Regions from separate parts of the Homo sapiens genome. Here all the other regions are linked to region 3. The links are contacts of gene promoters, found by promoter capture Hi-C in blood cells and fetal thymus (Javierre and others, 2016). All regions are on one chromosome and are shown on one strand. Each heading gives the region's core, a stretch centred on a gene start or on the middle of the fragment in contact. The rest is flanking DNA. Distances are from core to core; before and after follow the strand shown. Region 1 overlaps LINC02346 (long intergenic non-protein coding RNA 2346). Region 2 overlaps ATP10A (ATPase phospholipid transporting 10A (putative)). Region 3 holds the start of MAGEL2 (MAGE family member L2).

Evidence for each region. Contacts are between HindIII fragments. The CHiCAGO score rates a contact against its expected background, and 5 or more counts as called.
Region 1: a contact is called between a fragment that was not itself captured here and the fragment with the promoter of MAGEL2 in region 3, in 1 of 17 cell types (monocytes). The highest score is 5.5, in monocytes.
Region 2: a contact is called between a fragment that was not itself captured here and the fragment with the promoter of MAGEL2 in region 3, in 3 of 17 cell types (M1 macrophages, M0 macrophages and M2 macrophages). The highest score is 11.3, in M1 macrophages.

Annotation. Positions count from the first base shown.
Region 1 is chr15:25,927,886-25,930,730 of GRCh38, forward strand. The region is part of intron 1 of LINC02346 (long intergenic non-protein coding RNA 2346); the gene reads left to right. It also overlaps the pseudogene MRPS18CP5. Among named protein-coding and RNA genes, the nearest start is that of LINC02346, 27 kb to the left of the region's middle. RefSeq lists an enhancer at 2,581-2,845. The HindIII fragment of the contact is 7,826 bases long and covers 1-2,845 here.
Region 2 is chr15:25,697,218-25,699,937 of GRCh38, forward strand. The region is part of intron 13 of ATP10A (ATPase phospholipid transporting 10A (putative)); the gene reads right to left. Among named protein-coding and RNA genes, the nearest start is that of LINC02250, 120 kb to the left of the region's middle. The HindIII fragment of the contact is 2,829 bases long and covers 1-2,709 here.
Region 3 is chr15:23,646,615-23,649,418 of GRCh38, forward strand. It overlaps MAGEL2 (MAGE family member L2), which reads right to left and starts at 1,253. Exons shown (of 1, transcript NM_019066.5): 1 at 1-1,253. The coding sequence starts at 1,128. RefSeq lists an enhancer at 1-540. The HindIII fragment of the contact is 5,160 bases long and covers 1-2,393 here.

The DNA.
Region 1 (2,845 bases), core at 39-2,538, 2.3 Mb after region 3:
AATCTTTGTGCTTGAATAAACTCTCTTTAAACTAAAACACAAAGCAAAACGAAACAACAATGATCTTTTATATGGTTTTCTTTGGTTTCAATTTAATTTTTTTCTGCTCTAATGTTTATTATTTTTTCCTTCTAATTATTTTGCATTGGCTTTGTTCTTGCTTTTCTAGTTCCTTGAGGTGTGTCATTGGGTTATTTGAAGTCTTTCTACCTTTTTTTTTTACCTGTAAAATAAGTTTATCGGTGGTAACATGATATAATTTACTCCTGATATCTGATGTTACAAACTTTAGGGTCCTTGAGATATGCAGCATCCTTGGATGTAACTGGCAGAAACCCCATTATTTGAGCTCTCTTAATTGCTTTTGTGATTTCTTTCTGTTTCTTCCCACAAAGACCTGTTTTGTGCCTTCCACAAATGCATCCAACAAATGGAGAAATAAACTGGGACGCTGTACATTCTTAAAATCTACCTGCTTTCCACACAAGATACATTTCTTAAGGGCTTCTTTATAAGAATTTTCCATTGGAATGGGCAGGTCCTCATTGCTGGATATCTGTTTATATTGTGAACAACCTCTTCTCCATAGCACCATATGAGTCCTGGGATGTGTAAGGCTAACAGCAGCCATTACAAGGTGTGTCAACTTCTTCCTCCCCAGACCACTGCAAAGAGCAACTATAGTGGCCATGGTTCCACATTCCTCCACTGGTTCTACCTTTTATGTAGGCATTTATTGCCGAGCTTCCCTCTTTGAGATGCTTTTGCTGTATCACATAGGTTTAGGTGAAATGAGTTTCTTGTAGATAGCATATAGTTGGGTCTTGTTTTTGTTGTTGTTTGTTTGTTTGAGATGAAGTCTCACTCTGTCACCCAGGCTGGAGTGCAGTGGCGCAATCTTCGCTCACTGCAACCTTTGCCTCCCGGGTTCAAGTGATTCTCCTGCCTCAGCTCCTGAGTAGCTGGGATTACACACGCTTGCCACCATGCCTGGCTAATTTTTGTGTTTTTAGTAGAGATGGGGTTTCATCATGTTGGCCAGGCTGATCTCAAACTCCTGACCTTGTGATCCACCCACCTCGGCCTCCAAAAGTGCTGGGATTACAGGCATGAGCCACTGTGCCCGGCCATGGGTCTTGTTTTTTATCCATTCAGTCATTCTTTGTCTTTTAACTGGATAATTTAATCCATTTATATTCAAGGTTATTATTGATAGGTAAGGGTTTATTACCACCACTTTATTTGTTTTCTGGGTTTTTTTTAGACCTTTTCTTCTTTTTCCCTCTATTACTGTCTTCCTTCATGGTTAAGTGATTTTTTCTAGTAGTATGTTTTGATTCTGTGCCACTTATTTTTAGTATATCTATTACAGGTTTTTGCTTTGTGTTTACCATGTGTACAAAAAACATCTTATAGTTATAACAGGTTATTTTAAATTGATAATGACTTAATTTGACTGCAAAGAATAAAAGTAACAAAAATAAACTCTCCACTAATATGCCCCATCTTGACTTTTTCATGTTTCAATTTACATCTTTTTATATTGCCTATCTTTTAACCAATTGTTGTAGTTACCATCATGTTTAATAGTTTTGTCTTCTGTCTTCATACTTAAGAAATAAGTGATTTACTTGCCCCAATTGCAGTATTAGGATATTCTGAATTTGTCTTTTTTTCTTTTATTAGTGAGTTTAATACCCTTAGATATTTTCTTGTTACATGTTAGCAACCATTTCTTTCAAATTGAAGAACTCCCTTGGGCATTTCTTGTAACACAGATTTGGTGATGATGAATTCCTTCTGCTTTTGTTTGTGTGGGAAAGTCTATCTTTCCTTAGTATCTGAAGAATAGCTATGCTAGGCACAGTATGCTCGGTTGGTAGTTTTTTCCTTTAGCACATCAAATACAGCATTCCACTCTGTCCTTGCCTGCAAGGTTTCTGCTGAGAAATCCACTGAAAGCTGTATTGGGTATCTCTTGCATTTGGTTTGTTTCTTTTATCTTGCTGCTTTAAACATTCTTTCTTTGTCTTTGATTTTTTTAAATTTGATTATAATGTGCCTTTGGGATTTCCTCTTTGGGCTGAATTTTATTGGTAACTTCTGAGCTTCTTGTACCTGGATGGTGTCATTTTTTTTTCAGATTTGGGAAAATTTTATCCATTATTTATTTAAGTATGCTTTCTAGGCCTTTTCTCTTTTGTCTCCTTTGGGAATGTCTATTATGTGGAAATTAGTTCACTTGATGGCGCCCCACAATTCTTGTAGGCCCTGTTCACTCTTTTTTTAAATTCTTTTTTCTCTTTACTCTTCTAATTGGGTAATTGGGGTTATCTGGGCTTCATAAAACTGGATGTCTATTTCCCTTCCCAGATGTGGGAAGTTTTCAACCATTATTTCCTTAAATAAGTTTTCTACCACTTTCTCTTCCTCTTCTCTTTGTAGAAATCCCATAAAGCATATATTGGTATGTTTGATGATGTTCATAAGTTCCCTAAGTTCTCTTTACTTTTAAAAAATTATTTCTGTTTTTTTTTTGTTCCTCTGACTGGATAATTTCAAACGATCTCTCTTTGTGCACACAGATGCCTCTTCTTCTACCTGATCAAGTCTGCTGTTGAAGTTTCCTCTGAAATTTTTCAGTTCGGTCATTGTGTCCTTCAGCTCCAAAATTTATTTTCTTTTATCATCTCTATGTCTTTGTTGAAGTTCTCATTTTGTTCATGTATTGTTTTCACGATATCATGTGGCTTTCTTTCTGTGTTCTTTAATAGTTCACTGAGATTATTTAAGACACTTATTTTGAATTCTTTTCCAGGCAGTTCTTAGGTCTCCATCTTTTAAA
Region 2 (2,720 bases), core at 45-2,544, 2.1 Mb after region 3:
GCAAAAATGCAAGACTAGGTCTTATAAACACATCTGCCTTTGAAACCAACACCCAGAGCTCACAGCCCAAACCCCACAGGGTTGATCACCTGCTTAAAAAAAATCCACATTCTCCATAGAAATTAAAAATGGCCAGTGTCATAACATAATATTCGAAATGCCCATGATACAATCCAAAACTTCTTAGCATACAAAGAACCAGGAAAATCTTAACTCTGTGGAAAAAGACAATCCACAGAAGCCAATGTCAAGATGACACAGATACTGACATTATCGACAAAGAAAGACGAAAACAGCCATTATCCAAAAGTTCCAAGAAGTAAGATTGAACATGCTGGAAATGAACAGAGAGACAGACAGTCTTGGCCAAAAAGAAGGAAGATATTTCAGAGAACCAAATAGAAATTTGTGACAGAAATACATTAACTGAAATAAAAAGCTCACTGGATTCTAAATCATCTATGTAGATACTCTGCCCTCAAGGAGAAAACTATAACTCCACACTCCTTAACTGTGAGCTGTGCACAGTGACTTCCTTCGGAAGAATTCAGTATGGGAAGAGGCAAAGAGTACAGTGACTGAAAGGTCAACCCCAACAGTGACATGGTGTTGACAGCATGTACCCTTGATAGGATATGATGAAAATGGCACTTGACCTCTGTGGCTGTCCTCCCTAAAACCCTTAGCTCCACTTTAGTGATAAGAAAAACATCAGACAAATCCCAATATAAGGGCATTCTACAAAATACCTGGCCAGCACTCTTCAAAATGGTCAAAATGATTAAAAATAAAGAAAGTTTACCGAAGTGTCACAGCCAAGAAGAGTGTAAGGAGGCATGATGACAAAATGTAATGTAGTGTTCTGGATGGGATCCCAGAACAAAAAAAGGACACTAGGTAAAAACTAAGGCAATGTATGAACTTCAGAAAGTAATGATGTATCAACATTGGCTCCTTAATGTGATAAATGTACTAGGCTAATGTAAGATCAGTAACAATAAATTATGTATGGCATACATGAGAAATAAGTCTGTACTATCCTCACAGTTTTTCTCTAAATTTGAAACAATTCTATATATAAAGTTTATTTTTGAAAACTCTCTGGATGGGCCCAATGGGAGAATAGACACGACCAAGGAAAGAGTCAGTGAAGATCCGCTTTCACTTAATGAATAGTAAATATATTTTCTCTTCCTTAAGATTTTCTTGATAACATTTTCTTTTCTCTAGCTTACTTTATTGTAAGAATACAGCATATAATACATACAATATACAGAATAGGTGGTAATTGACTATTTGTTATCAGTAAGGCTTCTGGTCAACAGTAGGCTATGAATAGTCAAGTTTTTGGAGAGTCAAAAGTTATATGTGGATTTTTGACTACATGGAGGGATTGGTATCCCTAACCCCTACGTGTTCAAGGGTCAACTGTACTATAAACTGATGGAAAATAAAAATTTAAAAATACTACTTACAAAACCTACAAAAAATGTTGTACAGATGGTCCCTGACTTACAATGGTTCAATTTACAAATTTTCAACTTTTGGATGGGTCTTTTGGGGTATTAAATACATTTTCAACTTATGATTTTTTTGACCTATGATAGGTTTATTGGGACATAACCCCATCATAAGTTGAGGAGCATCAGTGCTTGGGTATGTATCTAACAAAACATGTATATGATGTGTATGCTGAAAACTATAAAATGCTGATAAAAGAAATAAAAGAAGACCTAAAAAATGTAGAGATATACCATGTTTACAGAGTGGAAGATCAACATAATAAAAATATCAATGCTTCCCAAATTGATTTATAAATTTAACAAAATTCAAATAAAAGCTCCAGCAGGAATTTCTGAACAGAAAAATTAATTTAAAATTCATATACGAAGGCAACAAATAAGAAGACTAGCCAAAACAATTTTGAAATAGAATAAAGTTGGAGGAATAACACTACCAATTTTTAAGACTTATAAAAAACTACAGTAATCAAACTACTACAATGAATCAATACACGTCGTATTGGTGAAGGGATAGACAAACAAATGAATGGAACAGAACAGAAAGTCTAGAAACAGACCCACACAAATGTAACTAACTGATTTTTGACAAAGACGCTTTCAACCAAAAGAAGACGCTTTCAACAAATGGCACTGGAGGAACTGGGCAGCCACATGTGGAAAGATGAAGTCTAACCTAACCCTCACACCTTTCATGAAATGTGACCCAAAATGGACTGTATCTATAGATAAGATGTTAACGTGTAATGCTTTTAGAATAAAACACAGGAGAAAATATTCATAATTAGGCACATCTTAGACATGACACCAAATGCATGATACATAAAATTTAAAAAAAATGACCAATCAGACCAGGCACAGTGGCTCAAGTCTATAATCTCAGCACTTTGAGAGGCCGAGGCAGGACAATCACTTGAGTTCAGGATTTTGACACCAGCCTGGGCAACGCTGGGGCATCCCATCTCTTAAAAAAATAAAAAATTAGCCAGGTATGCTTGTGCGCTCCTGTGGTCCCAGGTACTAGGGATGCTGAGGCAGGAGGATCCCTTGAGCCTGGGAGGTTGAGGCTGTAATGAGTTGCGATGGCACCACTGCACTCCAGCCTGGATAACAGAGTGAGACCTCATCTCCAAAAAGATAAAATAATAAAATAAAAATTTAACAAGAATAAAAATTTATCAAAACTAAAAGCTTTTGTGA
Region 3 (2,804 bases), core at 3-2,502:
CTGCCATCCTGGCGAGGTCGCCTGCCAGCCCGGGGGTGTGGCTAGCTGCGCTGGGGGTGCCTGCGGGCCCTGGGGAACCTGCGGAGGAGCCCTTATAACTTGAGACTGGATTTGCAGGATCAGAGGCTGAGCCTGCGGGGCCCAAGAAGCCATCGGCTGTGCAGGTGGGGCCATCGGCTGTGCAGGTGGGGCCGCCGGCTGTGCCATCGGTGCTCCTGAAGCTGGAGGCTGGGTCATCGGAGCTCTCGCACCTGGAGGATGAATCATCAGGACTCCTGGACCTGGAGGCTTGGCCATCGGTGCTCCTGAAGGCTGAGGCTGGGTCATCATGGCTGCTGGAGGCGGCTGGACCATCGGTGCTCCCGGAGCAGCAGGCTGGACCATCAGGACTCCCGGAGTCAGAGGCTGGGCCATCAGGACTCCCGGAGCTGGAGGCTGGGCCATCGGTGTACCCGGAGGGGGAGGATGAGCCATCGGTGTCCCCGGAGGTGGAGGATGAGCCATCGGTGTCCCCGGAGGGGGAGGATGAGCCATCGGTGTCCCCGGAGGGGGAGGATGAGCCATCGGGGTCCCCGGAGGAGGAGGATGCACCATCGGGGTCCCCGGAGGAGGAGGATGGGCCATCGGGGTCCCCGGAGGAGGAGGATGGGCCATTGGGGTCCCCGGAGGGGGAGGGTGGGACATTGGGGTCCCCGGAGGAGGAGGATGGGCCATGGGAGCTCCGGGAGCTGAAGGATGCACCATCAGGACTCCCGGGGTCGGAGGCTGGGCCATCGGGGCTCCCGGAGGTGGAGGATGCACCATCAGGACCCCGGGAGTCGGAGGCTTACCCATCGGGCCCCCCAGCGGGGGAGCCGGGACTATCGGGCCCCCTAGGGCAGGAGGCTGGGTCATCGGAACCACCGGGGCGGGCAGCTGGCCCTGTGGGGCCTCCCAGGCAGGCTGAGGTGCCTGCCAAGCGGCCAATGAAGCCTGCAAGTCAATTGGAGGTGGATCCCAAGGGACTGGCGGAGCCCGGGAGGAAGCGGGCGGGGCCCGCATCAGAACCGTAGGGCGGCTATAGACAGGCGGCTTCGGGGCCTCCGCCGGAGGACTCGAGTCACCCAGATTCTTACTTAGCTGCGACATGTCCCTTTGCTGACAGCTGGTGGGTCTTTTCCTCGGACAGCTGCTGGGCCTTTTCCTCCAGAGAGAAGAGAATGCCTACGTGGCTGTTCAGAGGCTCCCTCCCTGCTGAATGCTGAATAGGAAGTGAGTGCTGCTCGCTCCGCAGCTTTCCGCAGTAAGGAGGAGGGGGGAAGGGGGCTCAATCCCGCCCCTTCCCCGCCCCCGACCACCACAAGTGGATATTGCATAGGGGCGTCTACCGGAGTCCTGGCTGACACAGGATCCCTTCTCACTCTGTCCAGTCCCCAAATGCAGACCAGTCAGACTCCACATGGATGACTTTTCACAGGGGAGTGACAGGAACCCATCCATGTTTTAGAAAAATCACTGTACTGCAGTGTGGAGTGGGAGCAGACCACTGGAAACATGGAAGGTATCCAAGACGGCGGGGGGAGATGGTGTGGTCTGGGCTAAGATGTGAGGCGGAGAATGAAAAAAGCGCATTTACATAAGAGAGTTCCAGGAGTTATAGCAGACAGATACCTGTATTATAATTGAATAAAGGAGTCAAAGACATGGAAAAGGCACACAAGTCCCTGCCTGGAGAAAGTGGGAAGTTGCAGGGACTGTTACTCTCTTAGGGTCCCAGGAGAGGCACACGGGAAGAGAGGCTGATGAGTATTGGCAGACACAGGGCATTTGCGGTGCTGTGGGACTGCCAAGGAGAGATACCCTGTAGGCACTCCTGTATGATGTCTTGGGAGTCCTGCTTGGCTATTCCTCATGAAAATAGAGTTGTGGGAGGGAATGTGGTTGCACTGGGTCTTGAAGAACACAGGCATGTTAGAGACACATGGAGAAAAGGGACAGCAGCGAGTAGAGAGAGAGGAAAAGAAGTCACGGAACTGAGACATGCCACACATCAGTGGAAGACAGCATTTTTAGTATGGGAAAACTGCCTGTGGAATGGCTCGGATGCAGGAACAGAGTAGGTTTCTCAGTATTTTTCATCTGCAGAATGGGAAAGAAATTTAAAAAATGAAAACCAAATAACGCACCTGAAGATAACAAAATGGGTATATAAATAGATCAAAAATTGATATATTTGGATATATAGGAAAAACAGGCAAAGAATAAAAAAATTTCTGGGGAAACTTCTCGTGACAAAAATCAGTTTAAATATGAGACAAATCAAGTATTAACAGATAAAGCAGATGACAATAGTATTATTGGGCAATGCTATACAACTTTATGGTGAGAGGAAGTGATAATCTCAGTAATTGAAAAGCTTTCTGGAAATATACAAAGCACTAAATATCAAGGATGTTTCGTTTAAATAGGCTGTTGGCAGCCTACGGCAGGAGTCCAGAGTGACAAAACGTGCCACCAGGGGGCAGATGAGGACGATGAAGGGTACACCCCACTCCTTCCCAGGTACCCTTAGCCAGGGGTCCTCAAATTTGGTAATTTATGGACCCAAGAGAAGGTATGTACACACTCCCAATGTTATTATTGCCTTAAACAATAATAGAAGAATTTGGGGGTAAAGTTTCAGTGATTTTCTGGACACTTAAGGGATGTTGTTATTCCCAGGAAACTCTTTTCAAAACAGTCAGATTTTTAAGGGTGCTTGATGATACAGTAGCCCCCCCCACCTTACCTGCAGGGGATACATTCCAAAACTCTCGATGCCCGAA